2 separate regions of the Homo sapiens genome follow, and region 2 is linked to region 1. Evidence: promoter capture Hi-C in 16 types of primary human blood cells and fetal thymus (Javierre and others, 2016). All regions are on one chromosome and are shown on one strand. The core of a region is centred on a gene start or on the middle of the fragment in contact, and the rest is flanking DNA. Distances in the headings are between cores, read along the strand shown. Region 1 holds the start of ZNF219 (zinc finger protein 219). Region 2 holds the start of RNASE3 (ribonuclease A family member 3).

Region 1 (5,907 bases), core at 897-3,396:
GCCCTTCCCTAGAGATCCTACTTTCTGTCTGGATTGGTCCCCTGTCATTACTACTTGCAGCTTTGCCCCCAGACCAGGTAAGGTTGAATTCCAGGGGCTTTCTTGCCTCTCACTTTCTGGACAGTCTCCCTTCCTTCTTTCTTGAAGGTTTTACTCTGAACTGAACACTGACTCAATGGATGGGGGGGACCCTGTTTATGGTGGGGATTGTTTTTGATTCAATGATAACCTGCAACTGGACATTATCTATCTATCTATCTATCTATCTCATGGTCCTCAAATAGTGAGTCTTGGGAAGGATGCTATTGCAACAATTAATATTTTTGAGAGAGAAGGTGCCTCATAGCCAGACAGACCTGAGCTGGAATCTTAGCTCTGCTGCTTCTCCATCTGTGTGATCTTGGATACATTATTATTATTATTATTATTATATTATTGAGACAGGGGCTCACTGTCACCCAGGCTGGAGTGCAGTGGCATGATCATGGCTCACTGTAGCCAACACCTTCTGGGCACAAATAATCATCCTGCCTCAGTCTCCCAAGTAGCTGGGATCACAGGCACATGCCACCATGCCTGGCTAATTTTTAAATTTTTTGTAGAGACAGGGTCGTCTCACAATGTTGCCTAAGCTGGTCTCAAACTCCTGGGCTCAAGCCATCCTCCCTGCTTGGCCTCCCAAACTGCTGGGATTACAGGTGTGGGCCACTGTGTCTGTCCTGATAGATATGTTTTTCTACCTATTCGCACCTCAGTTTATTCACTGATAAAAGGGGGCTAACAATATGACTGTGAAGAGTTGTTGATTCAGGGTGGGTGTTTAATAACTATTAGTGGTGCTGATGAGGTCACACCGATAAGTCTGATGCCCATACACTAAAAGTGTTATTCAGAAGGAAGCTGGGGACACATTTCTACAGTCGGAAGCAGAACCAGCTGGGCCCAAATATACTCTATAGATCAAAACAAATCCCAGATCTACCTAGGTGCCCTTGGCAAGTTGCTTAATCTCTCTGTTCCCTTATCTATAAAAGGAAGTTAATAATACCAGTCTCAAGGGGTTGCTTTCAGCATGGAAGAGAGCTTAGCCCAGTACCTGGTACACAAGTGCTCAATGTTAGTGGCTATGATCATCATCACTATTATTATTTCTTGTTGTTGACGATAAGAGGAGACTGCGCCAGAAGACTCTAGAAGTTAGTACGAGGAGGGAGGCAGGGTCCTGGGAGGCAAGTGATCTTTTGTAAGCCACTCCTGCCCCATCAGTGCTGTGCCAACATCGGCGGGTCATTGTATCTACTCTTTTCTTTCCCGGGGAGTGGGAGTCACGTTTTAAAGAGATCCAGAAAACTGCTGTGTGTCTACTCCTCCTCAATTCCCACGTGCATTGATTTTATTTGGTGGCGATGTGAGATGTTGGGCTTGCACTGAGGATCCCCGAGCCTGCAGGCCACTGGGGAAACAGACTTCCTGAAGCCTCATTTTTCTTACTTGTAAATGGGGGCTAATTTAATTATAGAGGGTTATTGGAAAGATTATATACTATTAGATAGGTGAACAGGCATTCAGTAAATATTGACTAAATCTGAGTATACTACTTACCAGTTTGTAGTCTAGACTACAATCGCCTGGAAGGAAGGTACCACTTCTTTCTCATCCCTCACAGCGCTGAGCCCAGTGCCTGGCACTTAGTAAGCACTCAGTAAATATTTGTTGTATTGAAGAGCCATTAAAGTGACTTGAGGAATGGAAAATAGAATTCGAGAGGAAGGCGCAGGAATTGTTTATCAAGAACGGAAAGGACCGAAGAGTAACTTTAATAATGTTTCTTATACGGCCGACATTAACTATCTCTATAATCGCCCCTCCTCCTCCCCCAAAAGAGAGACAGAAATTGTAAGGGAGAGGCTTTGAGATAAAACCCCAGGAAGAACTTCCCGAGTCTGTGCATGTTGGGGCAGAAAGAGCGGCAGAGCCAACTCCTTCCCTGGTATGTCCGGGTTTAGGGAGGGAGGGGCAGTGCTGCTTGGAGGCTGGGGGAAGGACGAGATGACCTTTCAAAATCTCTTCCAGTCTCCTGTTGGAATCCTCTGTGCGCCCCACCCCCGCTCCCTCCCTTCCTCCCTCCCTCCGACAGCGCCCCCCGTCTCCAAACCGCCCGCACCCCGCCCCTGGCGGCCGCCTCTCGCGGCTCCCGGGGTCCCCAGCTCCCTGTCCCCGGAGCCAGAGCCCGGCTCCCGCGCGGCTCCCAGCCCCGCCGCGCCGCCCCCCGCATGCTAATGGCCGGGCCGCCTCCCGCCGCACACAATGCGGGCCAGGGCCGGGGGCGGGGGACCGGGGAGGGGGCGGGGGCCGGGCCGGGGGCGGGGGGGCCGGGGCCCGGCGCATCTCCCCCGGCCCCACGTAACGCTGACGCCCGCGCCGCCGGCCCGCCGCCCGCCGCCGCCGCCGCCGCCGCCGCCCGCTCCGCCGCCGCCCGCCCGGGGCTCGTGAGTAGCCGCTCCCCCGACTCCCGGGCCCCCCCGTCCGCCACCCGGCCCCCGCCCCCGGCCCCCTCCCCCCTCCCGGAGGGGGGGCCCGCTCAGCGCGCCCGGCTCGGAGCAGGTGCAGGGGGCGGGGGCGGGGGAGGGGCGCCGGCTCGGCCCCAAGCAAACTTCGCCCAGAGCTCCTGGGGGGGCGGGGTGGGGGTGGCGGCCTCGGAAGCCTGGAGAGCTGGGGGGCCCCAAGGGAGGGGGGGCCAGGTGGAAGAGCTGGGGGAGCAGACACCAAAGGGAAGGGCCAACGGGGGGGATGTGGCGGGGGAGGTGGCGGGTGTCTTTGTAGGGGCCCGAAGGCAGGGCGCGAGGGACCTGGGGGTGAGGGGCGGCAGAGCCGCGAGCCTGAGTGGATGTGCACCCCCCAACCCCCGGCCCAGGTAGGGCTGGTGGGGGAGGGGGAAGGAGCCCAAACTCTCTGGAAGCACGGGGTGGCGGGGGAGGGGAAAGGATGGGGGGTGCTTCCCTCTTTGCGTCCCAAACAAAGTGTCACAAAGAGCTCGGCCCGCGGCAGCAGCGGAGGCGGCTGTAACTCAGCTTTTGTTCTCCTGGCCGGGGGTAGCTGAGCCTTGGCCTCCCTATCTCCCAACCCTGCCCCCCATCATCCTTCTGGCTTATCTTCCTGGGGAGGGGTCTGGGGTGCTGCTGGAAAAACCTCTCCGGCAGGATAGCAGGTCCTACCCTACTTAGCAATCTATTTCTGGGAGGGGGATTTTCCCAGAGGCTCCCTTGATCGCCCCTACCTCCCAGTCTGAGGACCGAGGCTCACGTGGGTGCTAAGACTGACTTTTCTAGGGTCAGCTCCACTTAAAGGGACTTAGGGCTGGCTACATGCCCCTCTTTCCCAAACCCAGGTCTTCCAGAACTTTCAAAATCAAAATCGGGGTTGCGTTAGGACATGCCTCTGGGATAAGATTCCCCATGGTGGGATGGCAGCAGGTGAGCAGGTGTGCCTTCCTCTCGCCTCCTGCTGTACCTTTGAAGTCCATGGCTGAGGTTCCATGTCCCTAACTCAGGAGAGTGAGGACAGAGGGAAGGAGGCTTTACCAAGATCTCAGTCTAAAAAGGCTGGTGAGCTGCAGAGTGGAGCGGGTTAGGAGGAGCTATCTGAGCAGTGAGGTTCAGAGGGCCATGGAGAGGAGACCATAAAAGTGAACTACTGGTGTGTCTGTGTGATCAAGGTAGTCTTTTGAACGTAGACCGCCCTAGAAGCTCCCTTTCCTTTTAACCCCATCTAGTGCAGTGGTAATCATAATTGTTAGCAGATTTGGGAGGTCTAGGATTCTCAAGAGGGAAAACCATCGTGTTAGAGGTGACCAGAGGCAGTTACAACTGGACCCCAGAAGTCCTGAACCCTTGCTCCTTACACTTTGACCCTAAAAACTTTTGAATCACAAGACTTGAGGGACAGTCTTTGTGGTCCATTTAGCAAATACTTCTATGTACCTGTCCTTGTTGTTTCTAAGTCTTTTCACCAACCATTCCATCCTTCTCTACTGAGTAAGGTTTAGTGGTCCACACCCACTTCCCTACCAGCTGCCCCAGCATGTAAGGATAATTGGCCTACTGCTTTTGAAAGGTTTCTGATATCTATCCCTGGCCCCGCATCCTTATAGAATCCAAATAAGGGCAAGATAACCCCTGATTCCCAGTGGGGGTGGAAAGTAGGTCAGTGCTGCTGTCTGGCCAAGTCTCGAGGATGGTGTTTAAGGCCTGACTATAGAAAACTCTGTGATTATTGTCCAGGGGCAATATATGCATGACCTCGGTTCCAAGGCAGTTCATAGTATCCCAGTCCCTGTCAGTTCTTTCCCCTACTGAGAAAAAAATCATGGGATCAGGTGTCTGGAACCTGGTTTGATATGGAGATGATTCAGATCTTCATTGGGCCTAAGAAGGTATCTCAGTGAGTTTTGTTGATTTTAGGCCACCTTCTGGGGAAACTTTCCGTGCTGGGGAATTCAGCTTCAGTTTGGGCCTTCTTGTATATCACTCTATTTCTGTTCTGGAAACTGCTATGTGCAAAGTGGTTTATTGTTGTTTTGTTTTGGGATAGGAAGCTTTGCCCTTTTCTGACTCTTCTTGCCTCAGATATGAGGCCAGCTTCCTAAGAGATTTTGCTTGCTATCCTACAGACAGTTTTAGGGGCCCTAGAATCTTCTCAGAATGAGAGTATGTGCCCATAGGTTAGTCAGCTATGACCATGCAGTATTCCCAGCCCCCCCGCCCCACGCCTCCACCATCTGCTTCCTCTGAATATACCAGATTGGCTGTACACCAGGATGTTCCGGGAATCCCCAGGAGAGCAACAGAATGTGATGGACCCAAATATGATGCCTCAGTAACTCATTCCAGGATGTACAAACTGTAACTGTCAGGATGCTCCTTATAGCTAATTAAAATTCTTCTAGTTACATCTATTTTCTATTAGCTCTTTCTATTTTCAGTGACATCTAAAAGGCCAAAATAATCCCTCTGGTACCACTGGGTTTTTTTCTATGGTTTTCAGATAGGAACGAAAAAAAAATGCTCTAGCTTTTCTGTGTTGTATCTGCGATGCTAAAATGGCAAACAGCCCCTCTAGCACCTCATAGCTCTATCTATGGTACTGAGGTGGCCCAAGTGGCTTCTGTGGTAGCCCACTGCACTCTCCATGGTACTGAAGGGATGACCATTTGTTTTAACATCTCTCTGGGGTCCAAAAGAGTCCTGTGACTTAGAATCACAAACTTTTTTCGAGCAGGAAGGGACTAACACTATAAATTAGTCCAATCCCCTTATTTTACTGATGAGTAAACTGGGAGGTTAAGTGATTTAGTAAAGGTTGTAGGGTTATCAATGTTCAGACTAGGCCTACAATAGCCTTGTACCCTTCAGTCCTATTCTAATTCACCTTTTGTGACACTATTCAGTAAGCCTGGCTAGGCTCTTAGTCCCAGGAAAGGATCCAGAGGATGAGAGTGGGTGCCCTAATTTGAAGCTACAGAAATACACATATTAAGTGGTAGTGGAGGTCGTCTAGTGACCCTTGGACAAGGACACTTTGTTAATTAATCATCTGCTAATAATAATCCTATAGCCCAGATTCCACATGTAACAGGTACCTGCCCCTTCATGGAGTTTTACCACATCCACTAAATGTCAAAAATTAAAGAAGCCTTGGACCTCCAGAGCCTTTTCTCTCTGCTGACAGGCAGGTTGACTCCTGGCACAGTTCTTTTCTATTAAAGATCCTTAGGCAAAGTAATGCTTGCATCTTTTTCTTTCTCAGTAACCCATTTCAGTTTTGTGATGCCTATTGTAAGGAAGTTCTTTATATCTCAAATATCCTTTCTTAGACAAAAAAAAAAAAAAAAAAAGGTTAGACCCACAT
Region 2 (5,907 bases), core at 2,474-4,973, 210 kb after region 1:
GAAGGGGCAGTGAGTCCAGCCAGGGTTTCCTGATGGTCAAGCACAGAATCCTCCTTGGTCTTGTTTGAATCGTCTCACGTCCTGGGAGAGGGGAGCTGCCTCTGACCTCAGCCCAGTCATCAGCATGGGGATGGCAGGAAGATGATGTGGAAGGCATGGAGGGGCTGGAGAGAGGCCATGGCAACAGGGAGGGGAATAGCATGGGGCTGCACCATGAGAGGATGATGGTGAGATTCACTGAGATTGGAAGACTCTTGTTTCCCTCTCCCTCAACTTGTGGTCCTTCATTGGGGCCTTGCTTCCACTCTTGTCTCCCAAATAGTTGTGTTTTGCACAGCAGCTGGACAGATCTTTAGGCAATGTTATTCTTGCATGTAACATGCTCGATTTGTGCCCCATGAGGAACTTACTTTATTCTTCCATCTTCACAGGCATGAAGGGTCTGAACCTCATTAACTCCTATCATTAACACTCATGGCTATGATGATCTTGTCCTGACCAAACAACTTTTGTGCTTCTAACACGCCAAACCTCTATCCATTCAGGACCATTTTTTAAAACTGAAAATGTTTTATTACATTAAGGAATAAATACATACAAAGATGCGAATAATGGTAGTCATTCTCCTTCAGATGTTTTAATCAACTTATCGTAAACACAGAACGAAAAGTCTTCTTACAGCCTTGGTATTTGTCAGGACTTTTGAACTCTCTTTCTCTTTGCTGGGATGATTCTCCATCTGGTGTCTGCATGACTGGCTGCTTTTCCTCCTGTTCAGATTTCATTCTCTGAGATAAGTCTTTCCTGGTGACACTCTGCCCTGTCACTTTTGTGGCACATACAGAACCTCTATATTGTGCTGCTCTGTGTAATTTTCTGTGTACTATGCTGTGTATTTTTCCTCCTGACACTTAGCAAAATTTTGTATGCTTAGAACAATTTTGTATGTTTATTTTTATCCTTGTATAATGTGGCCTCAAAAGAGCAGGGACCTGTCTTGGTTTGTGTTGCATCATCACTCCCTCAAACTGTGCCTGGAGCAAGGTATCTGCTCAGTAGATGACTGCTGGATGAATGAATGAACGAAGGAATGAATGACGAGAGAGGATGAAGTCACAAGGTGGAGAGGGTGTGGGGGCAGGTGGGGACTGATCCCTCTATCCTGTGGTTTTAGAGATGAGGCATCCCCGACTGAGAAGAGACCTGTGATCTGGTACCTGAAGCAAGGAAGGTCCACTCCATCTTTCTTCACAGGAAACGTGGCTCCAGCTTTCAGAGTCCCACCTTCTCCTTCTGCTACTCTGAGGTTATGGGAAGACTGCACTCACTTCCTGACATGCCCTGTTTTACCTAGAGTCAGTGGATTCTGTTGAGCACTGAGATTTCCCAAACTCAGTGTCTCTGTGCAAACTTTTAAGTTCACAGCCCGACCTTGGAGAAGCAAGATCTCAATAGCTTCTCCAGAGGAGAGACTTCAATACAGCTGCTGTCTGATGCCAATTAAAGCACCATTACTGACATGGAGTCATCTGAGGAATGGAAATTGCTGTTTCTCAGGGTCTGGAAGAGGAGGAGAAATATAGAAGTCAGAAATCTCAGACTGAAGGACCAAGGTGCAGATCTGATGGCATCGTACCTCTCTTGCATTCTGAGTCGGGCCATTCAAAAAGACCCACTCTGTTCCTGGAACAATCACTTGAATGCTGCACCTGTCCACAACTTGCAGGAAGGGGCTTCCCCTTTTTCTCCCCTGTTTCTCATGGATTCCTGAGTGAAGCCCTGTGTTGGAGTCCAGGGCAGCGGCTCTCATCATCCATTTCTTCTCTCTCTGGGTCTACAAATCCTGAATTCTCGAGGCTGTGCCCTTCCTGACAGGTGTTGAATGAACCTTTGACTCGCCATTGGGAACATCTATGGAGGGCAGAATGGGCAGGAGCCAACTCACCTTCATGAGTGCTCCCACTTCCTCCTCCTCCTCCTCCCCCTTCTCCTTCCCACGTGACCAGCGGCTCCCCATCTCCAGGACATGGAACTTTTGGGAAAGATGTCCACCTCTCCTCCAGTCAGCATTACAATCTGTCCTTACTGCTGTCGGAACAATTTATCTTATTGCACATTTGACTCAAACCCTGGTTCCACCTCTATTACGATTGCTAATAGCTGGAGACTTGATGTGCCCATTTAAAAGAAATATCCCTGAGGCTAAACTTTTCTTTATCTTGGTTTCACCTTATTTATAGCATTCTTGACTTTTTCTACTTTCTTCTTTTCTATTTTCTATCATAACGTTCAATTCTATCAAAATTTATCATTCATAAATCATAATGAAGCACGTGCATTTTCAGCTGATTCACTGCAGCTCTTTTTTTCTTGGGATAGAAATCATGTCAATAAAAACCATAGTCGGACCATAAAGCATCAAATGGGACCTCAATATCAAATTGGGCTCAATTCTGGAATACAACTAAAACAAGTGGAGATCTATACACAAGTTATAGGTTGGTGTTGGGGGAGGAGTCAGTGGATGGAAAATTGCTTAGAGGAGATATTAAGGCTAGGGAGACCAATGCTAAGTTGACTCAATTGGATTTTTTTTTAAGGCAGGCCTGGAATCAGGTATCACATGAAGGATGATGGGGGAATTAAGGAATTTGGTCAGATATTGAGGGGGAGAGATTCATGATAAACCCAAATCTCTAGAGCAGATTGTCACTAAATGACAGCAGAGCGGCCGAGGAAGACACACAGACACTTCCAGATGAATTTGCAAAGCAGTTTATTGCAGGGTTCACAAGGGACTTCAGCTCAGGAAAGCTGAAGGGGTATGGAGACTGATGAGGACAGTTGCTGATACCCAGAGTACATGGAGGGATGGGATCTTGGCTATGATTGAGGAGCTTGGCAGATGAGTGATGATGAGGACTGCTGATACAGGAGCTTAGATGGTGGTATCCAGGTGAACTGGAACCACAGGATACCGTGGAGAATCCCGTGGATCTCTGTTGTCACATGCAACTACATAGAACCTCCTTCCTGGTCTGTCTGCATACGTGCAGTTTGAAATATTCTGTGCACCTGGATTTATGAGGTCACAGTGGAGTAAAGGCACCCGGAATCTACTCCGATGACAATTGTTGAGAGTTCTGTTATGAGGGCAGCGTATACTTTGGTTACCACAAACATTAACTACATTAGCAAAAGTTGTACGAAGAAAAGTATTTTGGTTTTTGCAACGCCATCGATAATTGTTAATTGCCCGCATTGCAATGGTGCATCGAGGGGGGTTCAGACTGATGTGCTGGATGGCAAACCACTGAGCCCTCGTAAACTGTGGGGGTCTGGCATGGAGTGAGCCCTCCACACCCATAAGCCCCAACAGAAGAAGCAGACAAATTTGGGAAGTGAACAGTTTTGGAACCATGTTTCCTGTAAGAAAAGAAGAGAAGTAACTACTCCCCGATCCGGTCTCGGTTATGACACACTCTATAGTGTCTCAACCCACAGGCCCCTCTGCTGCCACTCTGGGGTCGCATTTCCTTTTCTTCCTGTCCCCAAAGTGTGCCACATCTCCTAAGCACTAACTTCAGCTCACCTCTCCCTCAGGTGCTGCCCTGTCGCTGCCCCTCCTGTCCCAGCTCTGGGGATTGTTGACTTACCCAGTCTCTGAGCTGTGGCTCCTGTGAGAACTGATCCAGCTGGTTGTTCTGGGGTTCAGGGGCAGCTGGTCTCCCCTACTTGGAACTGTTTAAATAAAGCTTCCCTTGGTGGGTCTGGCCATGCAGAAACCCACAGATTGACACATGGTCCACTTGTGCAATCATCCTTTTTATTTGATGACTTGGCTGAGCAACGGATACCCAAGGACAGCCCTGCTGCTCTTTCTGCTATACGGACTCTAATTCCAAGTCATCCTGTGTTAGACAGAGTTTTGCCGGTGGGATCTGGACTCTGGGTGAAAACTATACGCTGCCGGCAGAATGACCACAGATTTTATAACTGTCCTCTGGCAGGCCCCTAAATGACTAAATGACACGAAGGCAGGCATAGTAGTTAGGAGAAATAGAGCCACAGAGGGCTGTTTGCCCAGGAGAAACCCAGCTTCCCTTCCATTTTTAGTAATATCCTTGGTTCTCTCTCACATAAATGCTCTCCATCTCATCCACCACTCTTGCTGGAAACTTGAGCTATTAATTTCTTGGGGCACAAGATTCTGTAGATAATTAAAACAATCTGCTCCATACAATTGAGGAATTTTTTTCTTTACTCCTCTTGCATTGGATCCACTTTCTCTTAAGTCTTGCCCTGATTATTGATTCCACTTTGTGTAAAGTTACATAACCTAAAAACACACCGAGGACAGTTGTAAAATCTGGCAGAGGATGAATGAACATTTGGTGTCATGAAAGATTCCAACCTAGCACTCGGTATTCCTGTGATCTTTTCAGCCTATGGTATTTTCTACAAAACAGTGTGTTCTGGGGTTGTCATTCATCTTCCTGGTAAGTTTCATTTTGTGATATTAACAAGAATATGGTTCTGTATTTACAAATGAACATTTAAGGACAGAGCACTGTATTCCTGAAAGTATAGAGGTCAAGTGTACAGTTTGATACACAAAGCATACATTTATTCTTGGCCCTCAGAGAAACACAGGAAAGTACTTGTAGACATATAATTGTATTACAGTGTGATAGAGGTAATAGCATTTGTGTGAACATGGTGTCATAGGGACACTGCTGGTGAAGGAAATCACTTGGCTTGAGAAATAAGGAAAACTTCAAAAAAAAGTTTATTTCAGCAGGTCCTAAAGGATAAGCAGGGGATTTTCAGGGGATTTAGAGAAGAGATGAGCATTCTGGGCACAGGGGATGATGTGGGGAAATTGTACAGAGGTGAGAAGTGAATTGCAAAGGTAAGGCCTGGGTACTAACAGATGTTAAATCTGGTCTAGCTTTGAGATTAGAAAATGGAAAGTAGACCCTTAAATGATATAATATACCTTCCAACAGTTAATCTGCCTAATTTTTACTACCGTCCAATTTTCCTGTCATTTAGAAATGCAATAATTTTATCACTGGGGTCCTTAGGTAAATGTGGACACAATGGTGACCTGGTGAGGACTCAATGCGCAGCTAATATTGCTCTGCCTTGAAGTCCTGTTCTGGCCGACATTCATTAGCAGCTTTATCATGAGGCAAGTTTATTTTTTCATGTATATTGTGTGGAGATCATTTTTGTAGGTGATGAGAATGTAAAGGTGAATGATACGTAGAGTATCCCCTCTGTGATGCTGACAGCCACACTGGCTAGAAACATTTGCACTTAAGTGTCTATAGTATGAGGCAAAAGACATAGACTGCAGCCCCAGGGCAGGTACTTGGCTAAACAGTGCTTCTTTTCAGCATACACAGTGCTATTTATGATGTTTGGTTTGGAAGATAAAGTTTGACATTGGAATAGTTCACTAAAAGTTTTCATTACTGTCTTATCTTTAAAAATCACATGATGGTGGTTGGTGCACCATTGGTGTTGTATCAATTAGAGCTGAGTAACAGCTGCGTCTGTGGAAGGGGCTCTAGCTCAGGGCTGTTCTCTGACTCCACTCTCCCTCCTGACTTTTATCCTATCTGTTCAGTGATGACACCTGCCTGGCTCCTGAAGACATCTGTGCTTATGACATATCAGACTTATTGAAGTGTCTTAAGCAGACCATAACCTGCCCAATTTGCAACCATATTCATCCTTTAAAATTGTGGAGTTTTTTGTTTTTTGTTTTTTTTTGAGACGGAGTCTTGCTCTTGTCACCCAGGCTGGACTGCAGTGGCGTGATCTCACTGCAACCTCCACCTCCGCCTCCCAAGTTCAAGTGATTCTCCTGCCTCAGCCTCCTGAGTAGCTGGGATTACA

What was found. Contacts are between HindIII fragments. The CHiCAGO score rates a contact against its expected background, and 5 or more counts as called.
Region 2: the fragment with the promoter of RNASE3 here is called in contact with the fragment with the promoter of ZNF219 in region 1 in 3 of 17 cell types (M1 macrophages, M0 macrophages and megakaryocytes); the score reaches 7.5 in M1 macrophages.

The regions. Positions count from the first base shown.
Region 1 is chr14:21,094,894-21,100,800 of GRCh38, reverse strand. It overlaps ZNF219 (zinc finger protein 219), which reads left to right and starts at 2,146. Exons shown (of 5, transcript NM_016423.3): 1 at 2,146-2,489. It also overlaps a transcript of TMEM253 not described here. RefSeq lists enhancers at 1,964-2,464, 3,224-3,725. The HindIII fragment of the contact is 7,101 bases long and covers 1-4,596 here.
Region 2 is chr14:20,889,201-20,895,107 of GRCh38, reverse strand. RNASE3 (ribonuclease A family member 3) reads right to left here and starts at 3,723. Exons shown (of 2, transcript NM_002935.3): 1 at 3,657-3,723; 2 at 2,760-3,426. The coding sequence starts at 3,421. The coding sequence ends at 2,939. The region is part of intron 1 of LOC100507513 (a long non-coding RNA gene); the gene reads left to right. The HindIII fragment of the contact is 4,045 bases long and covers 1-3,757 here.